Linked DNA regions of Homo sapiens: region 1 is linked to region 2. The links are contacts of gene promoters, found by promoter capture Hi-C in human tissues and cell types (Jung and others, 2019). All regions are on one chromosome and are shown on one strand. Each heading gives the region's core, a stretch centred on a gene start or on the middle of the fragment in contact. The rest is flanking DNA. Distances are from core to core; before and after follow the strand shown. Region 1 overlaps GIGYF2 (GRB10 interacting GYF protein 2). Region 2 holds the start of INPP5D (inositol polyphosphate-5-phosphatase D).

Region 1 (6,822 bases), core at 3,907-6,406, 270 kb after region 2:
CATCCAATCTCTTAGTAGCATCTGACATTATCAACTCAATTCTAAGCTAAAACATCCCCATTCCTTAGTTTCCCTGCACTCTACTCTCCTGTCTCTACTTTTACCTCTGAGGATTTTTCTCTGGTTCCTCTTCTTCTACCCTTTAAAAATGGGAATTACTCAAAGTTCTTTTCTTCTTACCCCTACTAAGTATATGCAATCTTTTCAATTTTCATTCTCTCTCTAACCCTAAACTACTCCCATCTAGCTACAGTCCCTCATTCACAACTGCTCTCTCGCCATCTCCACTTAACTTCTTCTCGTCAACACCTCAGAACCAGTGTTCAAAACTGAATTTCTCTCTCCTCTCCCCAGTGTGCTCCTCTATGGTGAATGGCACCATAATCCTCTCAGGCTCTTTGGCTCTTCCCTCTTCTTTTCGTGTGAATGGCACCATAATCCTCTTATAATCCTCTTTGGCTCTTCCCTCTTCTTTACCCTGATATCCAGTCAATGACTGAGTCCTGACAGTTTCTACTTTAAAATCTCACCTGCCACAACTTCCCTTTACAGGTGTACTATCTACCCCATAGTGACTGCTCAGGAGTCTAAGCGGTCACAGTGAAGCCAAACTGTCATCACAAGATAGTCTATACCCTGCTGTCAAATCCATGTTCTAACTACGTTTCCCAATATCCTCCTTTTCACACTTCATATTTCATCAAATAAAAACAAGAGCTGATTTCCTGCCCAAGCCTGGATCAGTCCCACTTCTTCACTTTAGCTTTCACTGCTCCCTAGTACTGGAATGCCTTCTCCCAATTCATCTATCTACACTTACCTCCAAATTCTACTTATTATTCCAAGATGTGTTCAGAGACCACCTACTTCCTGAAGCATCCCAAGAGTCTGCCAACAGTGAACCCTTATCTTACTTTTTGCCCTAGAATAGTGATATATGCACACTTTATCTCCTCTACACACTATAAATCTGGAGTTTCGACCTTTAATGTACATCTATGAAGCCTTCTCAGAATATATATATCTAGACTTGATCCAAGAATTTCCTGAATAAGGCTTCAAGCACGTACATTCAAAAGAATGTACCACAAGTAGTTCTGGGGCATATCCTACTACAAATCAAACTGCCTCAAAGATATATCAGTCTCACAGTGCCTGCTATGTAGAGCACAGATTCAAATACTTGCTGAGCTAACCAGGAAGCTAAGGGCAGGAGGATCACTTGAGCCCAGGAGTTCGGATCCAGCCTGAACAACATAGTGAGGCCCTGTCTCATTTTTGTTGTTGTTTTGTTTTTAGAGACAGGGGTCTTGCTATTGCTATGTTGTCCACACTGTTCTCAAACTCCTGGGCTCAAGTGATCTCCCCCATTTCAGCTTCCCGAGTAGCTGGGATTACAAGCACGTGCCATCACACCCAGTTAATCCCATCTCTTTAAAAAAATAATCAGCTTTGTTCTAGACATTTAAAAAATTGAAAAATTCCTGGGTTTGAGCTCTCAAAATATTAGTCTACTGGGAAAACAAGGTAATAAACATCTTTATGATATTATAATGCTATGTTAGAAATAAGCCTGGTTGTTTAAGAAACGAAGAAGACACCTACCCTAGTTTGGGGGCTTTGGGTGGAAGAGAGTTTCAAGAACAGAGAAAAGGATGTGCTAAGGTACGAATCCTAGAAAACAGGAGACAGTTCAGGACCTAAAAGGCTTTGAGGCTGGTAAGTAGAACGTGAGGGAAGTAAAGAGGCTGGCAATGAAACTGCACAAAGGGAAGCAGATGCCAGATTGTGCAGTGTCTCATATGCCATGTTAAAGGGTATCAATTTTTATGGTAAATGAATCAAGTAACCCTTCAACGTCAGGCATTACAATGACATTTTTAAATACGTACAAGAAGAAACATGGAAATGAGCATTAATATTGCCTAATAAAGTGTATGAGCAACTTAAACCAATACACTAACAACTGAAAGAGATATGTTTTAAGCTTATTCTGCCACAGATTCACATATGTTCTCTACTTGTCCTCTTTTAGAAAAATGGCATTTTGGTGTGTCATCTGGTAATTTAAGCTGGGCACATAATTAGTCAACACATGAAAGGAAGGTAACTGTCTAATACGGGAATCAAACTAATGCAAAGGCTATGACACCCAGTTCACCAGTAATGACAGGGTGGCTATGTCATAACACCTTAGGACATGAGATTCCAGAGCTCCACCCTTGCAGATTCGAACTCTGTTTTGGTAATTCTGAGATGGACACATACGTGAGAAGCACTGTTTGACTGGGTTTACTGGTAAAATAATCTATTCCGATAATTCACCCACTAAAAGCAGTTCTAGGAGGCATAAGCAGAAGCCTAACTTATCAGTGATCACTGGCCTCAGCAGAATCCTATTTTAGCTTGTCTATTCCCACAAATACATACCATCCCCTCTGCTGGGCACTTTGGCTGGTAGACTATTTTCCATCCGAGTCTCCTCTTCAGCTTTTTCCGTTTGCTCAGTTTTTGGTTCATCTTTCCTCTCAAACTGTGATGCTTCCTGAGACTGATGGTCTGAAGGAGTACCTGGTCTAGCAGATGATGATGAGGTCTGGGGAGTTTCCTCACTAGCTTCTGGAACACGAAGTAATCTTAGTTGAACTTACGAAAGTTTTGGTTTGATGGAGGAAAAAAAAGGCAAAGGGCAAGAAGAGGCCTTACCAACTCCTACTCTATCTGTTTTCTCTCCTTCTTTCTTATTTGTCTTATCGGGTTCTTTGGCCTCTTCATTATGGCTACCCTCAGAGTCAGAGCACTCCTCCCCTTCGTCCACAGGCCGGAAGTCCATCTCCTGCTCTTCTGGAATAGGCTCTTTCTGTACTTTCTGTAGAAAGAGAATAAAACCAAAGATCAACAGCAGATTTGGCTTTGGTATAAGGTTAATGCTGGTCATGACATTTAAAACACGTTTCTTACTTTTAGAGAAAGGAATGCTCCAGATGAGTCAAATGTACCCATTTCTTCTTCAGCATCCTCTAAGCACCATTCGGGCAAGCTATCCCTGTCATCATCTATGCTCCCACTGCCAGAGCGAACCCTTCGGTAACCCCGTTCATCATCTCTATCTCGAAAATCAAACTCAAACCTCCGACGTCGTTCCATGTGTTCCCGCCAGCCTGCAGAACGAGGGCCATCTGAGATGAGAAGGAGGACACAAACCTTAGAAAAGTTTTATGACAGTATTTGAATAAGAAAATCAGGAATAGAAAATAAAGGAGAAAACTACAAGTGACCGCAAACTCAAATGGACTGACCTAGTAAAGAGAACATTAGGCAACTAAATGAAGTTCAGAGTTCAGAGTATATGTACCATTACGAGATGACAACAGTACTTAAGTACTGAGCCAGGCAACATACTCTAAAGCTTTAAAAGATAAATCTAAAATGCAGTACATTTAAAGGACACTGTATTCCAAGTACGCACTTTCAGTAAGTCCTAGGTACTTGATTAAAATACTGATTAGCCGCCAACTCCTCATCCAGACTTAATGCACTAGACATCCTTCCATACTGAAGTTTACACCTTCCTTTTGCCCAATCTTAAAGCATTTTCTTTCTTCCCATGAAAATATCATTGTTTGTGGATAAAATCAGCTCCCTGTGTTGACTTATATCAAACTCATCATGACTATTTATTAATGCCAGGTTCCCACTTGTAATTCTGATCCTCCCCCAAAAATTCACAAAATTACAGTGCTGAAAGTTGTCACAGAGATTTTATGAAGTTCACTATCCTAATTTTATAGTTTAAGAAGAAACTAAAACTTTGCCAGCAGAAGTAACTCGCACATGGCAAAGTAGAACTAAAATCCAATTCTGCACCCTCTGCTGCTTGTTCCACAATAACATACTTACTCCTCTCCCTTCTTTCTCATCTCTTAATTCTCCCTATCCATATAATACCCCTACGGACATTCCCAAATCTACATTTCCCAACAGAAGAAAAGATTGCCTAATAATAAGAGATCCTACTTAAGATATTTTTCTAAAAAAAAGAAAGGGAAACTCTTGCTAAAATCTGACAGACCTGAGTCTAAAAGAGTCTTAAAAAGAAAAGCAGGCTTTAACCTATTAGAATTTTCCATCCTTGACTGCTTTCTCTGTGGGGGATAAGAAAAAGAAATGTGGCCAGAGTTAAATGTTCTCACTATTGAGACAAACTTTGCAAAAACCAGCAATCTAAAAATCAAATTGGAAAACAAAGGGCAAAACGTTAAAATGCCAAATACAGGTAGCATCTGATAAGCCACTCACAAAAAAGAAATCTTAGTCCCACACTCCCATCCCTTCATATAAAAACAACAAAACACTATTTACTACTTCCTATGAGAACTAAGGAATTTTATACTCAGACTGCTTACGTGGAAACCTAGAGCCATTATGTGAAAAGAGTCTTCATGATCAAATGAATTCCAGAGCCCTCTGTACTGCTTTCATTTCTAACAGTCTAAATGTACATCATGACAGGAATCTATCCTTCTAGGTACCTGGCTCATGTTTCTCCTCTTACTGACTTTCCTAGGTTCAGCTCCCAGACTGGATGCCTCCCTGTCCTTAATGTTCCCACCCCCACGCACATCCAGCCGGAAGCCCTATTTTATATCCCATAATGTTATCTTATCAGTAGTTCATAAAATTTTACTCACGAAACTAAACATAGCAAGTAAGACATGCAAGGTACTTATTAAGGCTGACTGCTGATTTACAGACCCTACATCTAAACTAAAGTTGGATACTATTTTCATAAAATCAGTTAAAATAATTTAAAGTTTTACTCAAATCTTAATAAAAGATTAACCATAAACTAACAAACGTTAAGAGTTAACATATGAAAACTGCTATAATCAGGCTATACTTTGAATATACTGGGTTTAAAAAGTGAATCGTATTCTTTTTTAAAATGCATTTACACTGTTTTTTCAGACCCAAACTTTATATTTGGGGGATCTTTATATCCCCCAAACTGTCTTTTAAAAATATATGGATTTCAGCCACAGGTGTGACTGAAAAAATATATATGTATATGGATTAAAAGTTCTGGAAGATACACAAGTTGATGACAAAAATGATATGAAAGTCAAATATTAGGGGGAAAGAAAGATTCAGAAAAGATGAGAAGAAGATAATATATAACCAAATTCTAAGTTGTTGGGTGGGAGGTACTTTGTTAAACTCCCTTTAATAGAATCAACATCAGACATTTGGGCTCAAAAAACACAGTTCATCTTCCAAAACATTCACCTTGTTTGTTTTTGACCAGCTGGAATTTCTTTTCTCTCTCAGCCCAGATCCTATCCATTCTTCACTGAATGCTTGTTGGGAACATAGTCTACAAACCCTCTGCCTACGGACAAGCTCAGCATAAAATGCAGTGATGCCTTTTAGAGAACTATAACATCTGGCCCAGGTCACAGACTAATGAAAATTGTCTAGACCTTGTGATGTAAACAATGCCCACTAATGACAGAAAACCCACCCAAGAGGCAGCCATGAAGAGTTGGTATAAAACCATCCTAACTCTACCCAAACATTAACTTCAGTATGTTTCTATCTACCTACCACTTCCTTAAAATACTCTGAATGCCTGTTATAATGTCTACCCAGATCTAAGCTAGTGGTTTTGCTAATAACTTGATTTTTAAAAGTGAAAACAGTTTACTTATCATAATTTCCTGTATTAAAGGTAAGCCCCTCTGGCACATGGTTGATAAAATACTGTCATACACATGAAATTCATAGGGCATTCCACATATACTCTGTGTGCTTCAGTTTTGCATGACCCCACAATTGGAACTACAGTTGCATCTGATTATCATGAGGCATGGAATCAGCACTGTGGTACAGGATGAACTTTAACACAAAGCACTAGTGTCTTCAATTACTAGCATATCTAATGTCCAAGAAGAACAGTTTGAGCATTTTTAAGAGACAAACAGAAGAACTTTAAAAGCCACTAATCACTACTATTGTCTCTCCTTCTTCTAAAGTTAGAAGGACATAAGAATGAACTTGTGATTATGTTTCTGACCTAGGTTTAAAGCTTATTCTTCAAATAAGGTTAAATCACATTTTCAAAAGGGAAAAAATGAAAGAATAAACCCTTTCTTGTTAGGAAAAACACTCATTGTTGGGGAGGGAAGCACATATTTCAAGTGTGTAATTTTTACACATTTATAAATCTTAAAGAATGCTAAAAAAGATTCAGAGATTTAGAGGTAGACAAAACTGAATGAAACCCTCATTTCTGCAGTTGAGCGCAGGTGCTTCCCATTAAACTACACTATTTGCCCCAGAAAAATAGAAAAGTGATTTCAATCAACTGAATAGATGTAGGAAATTTTTATGTTGCAATTTTTTCTAGTAATAAAACTGTGACAGCATAAATAATATGAATCCACCCCCACATTTTTTAAGCCAGTTTATCTTTTTCATTTAATCCCTATTTCCATCAAACTTTCCCTTATTTCAGTCCCTGTGTGCCTTTACTCAACAGAATTCTTACCAGGACTGTGAGGTCGCCACCTCTCTCCATCCCTCCTTGATCCAGCTAGTCGCCAACCTCCATCTTCATCTTCTCCATTTTGTTCCTCTCTAAAGATGCGCCAATTTTCACTTTCTGAGCGTATAAATTCATGCTTTCTCCCTACTGATGTTGGTCCACCTTCCTCAAAATTTGGTCTCCCTATAAAGAAAATAATATGGTAAGTAAACATGAGCCTCTGCCAGTATAGGCTTTGAAAACAAACTTCACAGCTCAAATCAAGCTTTCCTGCAAAT
Region 2 (7,423 bases), core at 1,194-3,693:
TGGAGCCTGACCCTGCAGGAAGGGAAGCTTCCCACCCTGAGCAGAGGAGAAAGGGAAACACTGAGCCCAGGGTTTGTCTGGCCAAGGGGTGGGACTCCTGGTGTTTGCAGCCCAGCAGCCTCAGGATAGGAGGCTGACGAGGCTTCGGCTGAGAGGATAGTGGACATCTGTAGGCACCACAGGTCCCTCTCTAAGGAGCAGACACTGCACACCCATCATGACTCTGAGAGAACTCAGTGCAGACAAGGGTTCAGAGAGAAGAGGTAGAGGAAGGAATACGAGAACTGGCCTGGATCCCAGCAGTTTTGACCCCAGCCAGCATGGTGGACAAAGGCCTCAGGCTCTCTGCCCTCTGTCTACCTCCTGAAAAGCCAGGGCTGTTGCACCAGAGCTTCTCCAAGGCCTCTCCAGCTCTGACTCTGGCTCAGGCTAATCCTAGACGTTAAGATGCTCACGGCTCGGAGTCAGAGAGACCCACGCCCCATGTCTGTAACCTGAGCAACCACAAAGCAAGCCCTGGTCAAAGGGCTGTGTTGAAGGTTAATGAGATGGGGCCCTGGAAGCCCTCGGCTCAGCCAACACCAAACAGCCAGGACAAGATCCCACTGGGCCAGGAGAGAAATCCAAGTAACCCACATGGGCCAGGTGGAGTCAGACTGGGCTTGTGAGAGGCCTAAGAGAATCTTCCTGCTCCTTCTAAGGCCCCGGCAGCAGCAGGTCCCCACTGGGGAAGTCCAGGCAGCCTGGGCCTGCGTTCCTTCCCCTGAGGCATGAGAGAGGGGACACAGGAAACCAGTCTTTGGAGGTGGGGCTGCAGACTGTCAGCACAGGCCAGCGACCAGCTGCGAGCCTGGCTTGGTTTCCAGTGCCCCAGCTGACCCTGTAAACACTGTGGCTCCCCTTGCTTCTTTCTCCAGCCCTGCAAGGCTACATGCCTGCCCCGCTGGACTGGGAGCAGGAGAGGTTGGGCCACAGGCTGCTGGTCTCAGCTGCAGCCTCTGGGGGCAGATGGCCGTGGCTTTGACTGTTGTCACTCACTTAACCTGCCAGGGCCTCAGATTTCTCATCTGCAAAGTGGGGCTTTTAACAGGACCTTCACTTTAGGTTGTGGTGAGGATGAAATGGGCTAACAAATGCTTAGCACGACAGGTCCCAGCTGTGAGTCAGTATTCAAAACAGGTCTGGGTTCATCACCCAATTCCCCTCCTGCCTGGAGAAGCACAAGGCCCTGGCTGCTCGGGGGAACATTTCTGCCAGCCCAGGGATGCTACTTGAGATGTTCAGGTGGACACACATTTCCCTGACTACACTCCGGCACTGCCTGAGGCCCCGGCAAAATGATTAGACCAAGAGCTGCAGGGCAAGGCCCCCCTATGATTAGACCGAGAGCTGCAGGGCAAGGGCCTCCTTCAGACGCTGGACAGGAAGGGGGTTTTAGAAAGGAACCTTCAGCAAGTGGCTGGTTCCTCCATTGTTAGCACAGCTGGTACATTCAGTAACATCCCCAACCGGGCAGTGGGAGGAGTTGATGGTGACAGAGACCCAAATTGAGGGGGTGGGGGGTGGGCAGCGGTCACAGCCAAGTGCTCAGGAGAGAGAAGAGGCTGCTCGCTGGTGGTAATGGTGACTTCCTCTGCTCTCAGGCCCCTGAAAGCAGCTTCTGACTGAATGGAAAGTCCTTTCTTGATTAAACTCACCCCATATTCTTGGCTCGCCAAACAACAGCTTCCTCCAGGGGCCCGAAGCCTGGGTGCTCCAGGAAGGGTCCCCCTTGCCACCTTTGCTCTTCTCAGGGTTTCTGAGCTGGGCATCTTTGAGCTGATCTCTAACACACCCACCTCCACAGAGCCCTGAGCTTCCTCCTGGCTCCAAAAGCCCAAACTCCCTTCTCTCGGTCCCCAGACTCCAAGGAAGCCACAAGGTCCATACAGCTCATGGGAAGCTGGGGTGTAACATCAGGCCTCAGAGTGGTTCTGACAGCTCCAAGGCTGCAAAACCTGCCATGAGACCAGCTCTCTGAACTCCAAGGACAAGGTCCATGACAGGGTGGCGGGGAAGTGTGCATGTCAGATCACTCTGTCCTGTGACATAAGAACAACCCATCTCAAAGCTGGGCCCCCTCTAAGCCCCTCTGTCATATCTGTGCCCGGGGAGGGAGCAGGTTGTACTCACAGCACGCAGAGCGCGTATGCCCGGGAGATGGACTCGCTGGCACGCACGAGGAAGCTCCCGTCCTTGCCTGTCCTGGAAAGCAGCTCCTCCGCCTTGGAGCGGGTGATGTTGCCATGGTTCCAGCAGGGGACCATGGTGGGCGTGGGCCTCCTCGGCCGGGCCGGCAGGCACCCCCAGGACCCACACACCACCGAGGGGAGCGGAGGCCCCTCCACTGCAACCTGCCGCCCGTTGCCTCTTGGTGGCCTCGGCTGCTGCCACCAGCTTAACTGACTGACTTCCTGTTTCAGGCGCTCAGTGAGGGAAAGGAAACTGAGCTGCGGAGAACTTCCTCATTACAGAAACCAAGCAAGAGAGAGAGAGAGAAAGAGAGAGAGGGGGGGGCCCTGGCCGTCCACCGTCCCCTACACCCTGCCACGGCTGCCGCGGCTCTCTTGCCAGCCCTCTCCTTCCTGGCAACTGGTCGCAGCGTACAATTGAAGTGTCCAGTGGCAGCTGAAGTCCCCCTGGGTGGAATGACCGGCTCTGGAGACGTCAGGAGAGTTGTGGCCACTTCTGAAGAAGCATGGCCTAGCAGGCATGGGTGGGCCAGAGAAGTGGTTCTTCTGCGGCCGTGCTGACACCCACGTGGGATGCCATGCCCTAGACAGGCCCCCGAGCCTTCTGCTCTCCCTCAGGGCTTTTCAGCACCCACCCTGAACCTCCAAAACACCCAAGGGGGCACAGCTTCTCAACTGGGACTACGGCCTGCCCAGGACAGAGCAAACTTGAGGGGGAGGGGACAGTCGAGCCCCACCCCTCCCCTTTAGAGACTCCCAGCGGCCTGGGTGCTGGGAGACCTTGGCTGCCACCAGCCGAGGGCGCCAAGGTCCAAGTGATGGCTCTGTGACCCCATTACCCTCATTCCCAGGGGCGGGTGGGTGCTGCACGGGCAGCACAGCTCTGATCCCTGCAGTCCAGCTTGGAGACACACAAAGGGAGCTTGGAGGGGATGTGGGCCGTTTACAGCGGGAACATAGGCTGGGTTTTTCCCTGGGCTTCTCCAGGATGCTGGGGAAACAAGCTCGGAGAGGAGAACCCCAAAGCCCCACAGGGCAGGCTGGCCGCCTGGCCAAGGACAACACTGGGTGCTGAGTCCTGCGTCTCAGCAGTCGGGGTGGCCGGTCGGACTGCACCGCCTCCAAGACTGGGCATGGCCACATATGCCCACCACTCAAAGAGGAGCTGCCTCTCCAGGGACCGCCATCCAGGACCAGTCATTTCTGAGGGCTCTGCGGTGGACACCCATCCCTCAGCCCCCAGACCTGGGCACCTTCCGTCCTTGGGTCCGGCCCACCAAGGCCGAAGGGGCACGTGTTGACCCGCTGCACAAAGAGTGCCCCCACCATCCCACATCCAGGCCTTGGCCTCCAGGACATGACAACAGACTCCCTCCAGGAAGGGGCACCAGCCAGGCAGCGCCACCACATTCAAGCTGTGGGAACCTGGTCAAGTTTCTTCTCTCTCTCGGCCTTGGTTTCTTCTTGTCTAACTTGAAGGACGTAGCTCGTAAAAGAGCTCACATGTGCCCAGGGGCTCAACATGTGTCACACTGATGGTTGTCCCAGAACAGGGCCCCCAGCACCTCCCCGCTGAGCAACACACATGGCAGGCGAGTCTGTAGGGCAGACAAAGCACTCCCAGTCAAGGACCTCTGGCCAGGCTGGGAGCCAGGCGTGGGGATAGAGTGGTGATGGGAACTGGCCTCCATGCTCCGGCCCTTCCGCAGCACGCCACCTCTGCAGCAGCCCAGTGTGGAGGCCTCTCATTCCCCACCCACGCCTCCACTCAGCACCTGTCCACCCCCTCCTTATGGGGTCATCTCCTATGCTCCCATTGTGTACCTTCACACCCTTCTCACTTCCCTGCTGGCCTCCACCAACATCCATGAAGTCCTGGACCACGCCACCAGGAGGATCCATTTGCAATACTGGTCCCTTTACACCTCCACCCACTCATCTCTAGAGACCCCTACCATGCCAAGACTGCCCTACTTAGAGAGCTTCCCCCAAACCCCCAGCCCCCCACCTCTCACACCTCTATTCCCACGGTCCTTGCCATTCCACAGAGTGAGATCCCCTGGCACACACGCCACACGGGCACTCTTCCCTCATTTTTAAGGCCCATCCCAACTTTGCTTCCTTTTCCACCCAATTGCCTGATCTATCCAGCATGGTCAGCTGGCTTGTCCCCCACCCTTCTGCCCTCCACATTCAGGAAATCCCAGTATCTAGATCAGAGCTGCCCTTTTGGTGGGTGGATTTTTTTTTTTTGTAGGTCTCCAGTCAATATAAATAATTTTAACGTATTACAAAATTCACAAACTCATGTGAGGGATAGTGATTTATCAATGAAGACTTCAAATAATGGCTAGAGAGTGGCCAGGCACAGTGGCTAACACCTGTAATCCCAGCACTTTGGGAGGCTGAGGGGAGTGGATCACCTGAGGTCAGGAGTTTGAGACCAGCCTGGCCAACATGGTGAAACCCTGTCTCTACTAAAAAAAAAAAAAAAAAAAATCAGGTGGGTGTGGTACGTGCCTATAATCGCAGCTACAGCTACTTTGGAGGCTGAGCAGGATAATCACTTGAACCCAGGAGGCGAAGATTGCAGTGAGTCGAGATCGTGCCACTGCACTCCAGCCTGGGTGATAGAGCGACACAGTAAAAAAAAAAAAAAATTACTGTTCCAAATTTTATAGCATAAAGGTAGAACCACACATCTTCCAGCCATATTCTCTTGAATGTGTTAGGCCATAATCACTGCATTCCTACCTTGAGATCCCATTTGATGATGATTGCACCCTGGCCCTCCACATACAAGAGCAGTCTCACTCTCCAGGGATGTCTGCCTGCATCTGGCTTGGCAGGATCAATGTGGAGAGCTCAGCATCACCACATGGATGGGAGGTGGGAGATGATGCTGATGGGAAGAGCCCGTGGGTGTATCGGTGCTGTGGAGCAATGTCCTCGAAAGACGTTGGAGGAGGCAGCTGCCTGATAGTGGACAGGAGCCTCCAGAAGGGATAAGGGACTGCCAGCTGCTGCTGGCAGGGGTGATGAGGGCCTAGACCACCTGCCACTATCCTTGCTGTCCTCAATGCTCGGGGCCACTCAAAGGAGAAACCTGCTCCCCAGGCTGTGCCCAGGAGTCACACCCAGCCATAGGGCCCCAGAGCGATTGCATAGTGTGAGTCTATGCATTCCTTGGAGCATCTGGTCAACCTCACCCATGGGGCAGAGGCTTGGAAAGCAGCTGAGGGGAAGAAGTGGGGTCAGACTCACTCATGTGATCCTGGGTCCAGACTGGGGCACCTGCCCAAAGGCACTGCCAGCCCTGGCAAGCCCCAGGCCCCATCAGGGGACTTGAACAATTTCTGGGAAAGCTGGGCAGTGAGAAGCATCAGGGTGGTCTGGCAGGCACCTGGTCATGGGCACTCAGCCAACTCTAGAAGCTCCGGGAAGAACAGACAGGCCTCAGTGTTGAAGAGGAGGGCTGACATGGCAGGGCCAAGGCATTGGAGCAATTCTGCTTTGGCAACCTTAAGTGAGGGCGGGTCACAGGAAGGTTTGAGTCTCAGGACAGGGTCAGGGCAGGCTGGGAGAGAGGGACAATGGAGACACCAAGCTTCTTGTCCAGGGGTCCTTCCACCGTGGACAAGAAACAGAAAGAATTTCAGGGTCTGAGAAGGGACTGAGCCAGGAGAGGGGAGGCAGAGGTCAATATATACTGTATATATATATGTGTGTGTGTGTGTGTATATATATATATATATATACACACATACACACACACATTACATCATATATATAGTGTGTATATATATACACACACATTATATATATATAATATATATTTACTATACAATGTTAACAGATATACAATATATCTAAGCATTTGTCTCTGTACTTCCCTTCCCCTCCTGTGTTCATCGAAGCCCTTTACTATGCCCCAGGGCTCCCACTCCCCCCAGCCTGGGTGGATAGATAGATATCACTCATGGCTTGGGGTGCAGGGGCTGAAAGTGTTCACTCACTGAGTGCTAAAAGCAAAGGGAGCAGTGATGGTTAATTTTATGTCAACTTGGCTGGGCCTCAGGACCCAGATATTTGGTCAACATTATTCTGGATGTCTCTCTGAAAGTATTTTTTAGATGACATGAACATTTAAATCAGTAGACTTTGAGTAAAGCAATTCCTGTGTGTAGGCCTCATCCAATAAGCTGAAGGTCTTAATAGAAAAAGACTGACTTCCTCCAAAGAGTAAATTTGCCAGTAGATTGCCTATGGACTCGAGCCGCAGCATCAACTCTTCCCGGGGTCTCCAGCCTGCCAGCCCACTCTACAGACTTTGCACTTGCCAGCCTTGACCATCCTATGAGCCAATTCCATATCTATCTATCTATCTATCTATCTATCTATCTATCTATCTATCTATCTATCCATACATCTGTGTATCTCTCTAGCCATCCACCTATCTATCCACCTATCTAGCCATCTATCTATCTATCCATCTATTTATCTATCTAGCCATCTATCTAGCCATCCATCTATCTATCCATCTAGCCACTATCTATCTAGTCATCTATGTATCTAGCCATCCATCTATCTATCCAGCCATTTATCTAGCTATCTAGCTAACCATCCATCCATCTATCTATCTAGCCATCTACCTATCCATCTATCTAGTCACTATCTATCTAGCCATCTATCTATCTATCTGGCCATCCATCTGTCTAGCCATCTGTCTAACTATTACCTATCTATCTATTGATCTATAAATCTATCGATCTGCCTATCTATTTAGTCATCTATCTATCTAGTCATCTATTTATCCATATATCTATCTAGCCATCTGTCTATGTATCTAGCCATCTGTCTGTCTATCTATCTAGCCATCTATCTATTTAGCCATCTATCTATCTATCTATCTATCCATCCATCTATGTAGCTATCCATCCATCTATCTAGCCATCTATCTATCCATCCATGTAGCCATCCATCTATCTATTTAGCCATCTATCTATCTATCTAGCCATCTATCTCCCTATCTATCTAGCCATCTATCTCCCTATCTATCTAATCTATCTACTTATCTATCTGCTTCTCTGAAGAACCCTGATTAATAGAAGGGCAAATACTTGACCGTGAAGTTAGAAAGTTGCTCACTGGCTGGCGTAATCAATAGTGAACTTCCCTCATCTTCAGACCTG

Evidence for each region. The method cuts DNA at HindIII sites, captures the fragments that hold promoters and counts their contacts. A contact is called where the count stands out against the background at its distance.
Region 1: a contact is called between a fragment that was not itself captured here and the fragment with the promoter of INPP5D in region 2, in 3 of the 25 tissues and cell types used here (heart left ventricle, hippocampus and thymus).

Annotation. Positions count from the first base shown.
Region 1 is chr2:232,787,055-232,793,876 of GRCh38, reverse strand. It overlaps GIGYF2 (GRB10 interacting GYF protein 2), which reads right to left. Exons shown (of 29, transcript NM_001103146.3): 9 at 6,548-6,727; 10 at 2,962-3,179; 11 at 2,707-2,869; 12 at 2,431-2,619. Among named protein-coding and RNA genes, the nearest start is that of KCNJ13, 14 kb to the right of the region's middle. The HindIII fragment of the contact is 4,915 bases long and covers 2,699-6,822 here.
Region 2 is chr2:233,055,362-233,062,784 of GRCh38, reverse strand. It overlaps INPP5D (inositol polyphosphate-5-phosphatase D), which reads right to left and starts at 2,443. Exons shown (of 27, transcript NM_001017915.3): 1 at 2,173-2,443. The coding sequence starts at 2,306. RefSeq lists enhancers at 1-118, 119-712, 1,799-1,888, 2,489-2,768 and silencers at 89-138, 2,209-2,288. The HindIII fragment of the contact is 3,353 bases long and covers 1-2,933 here.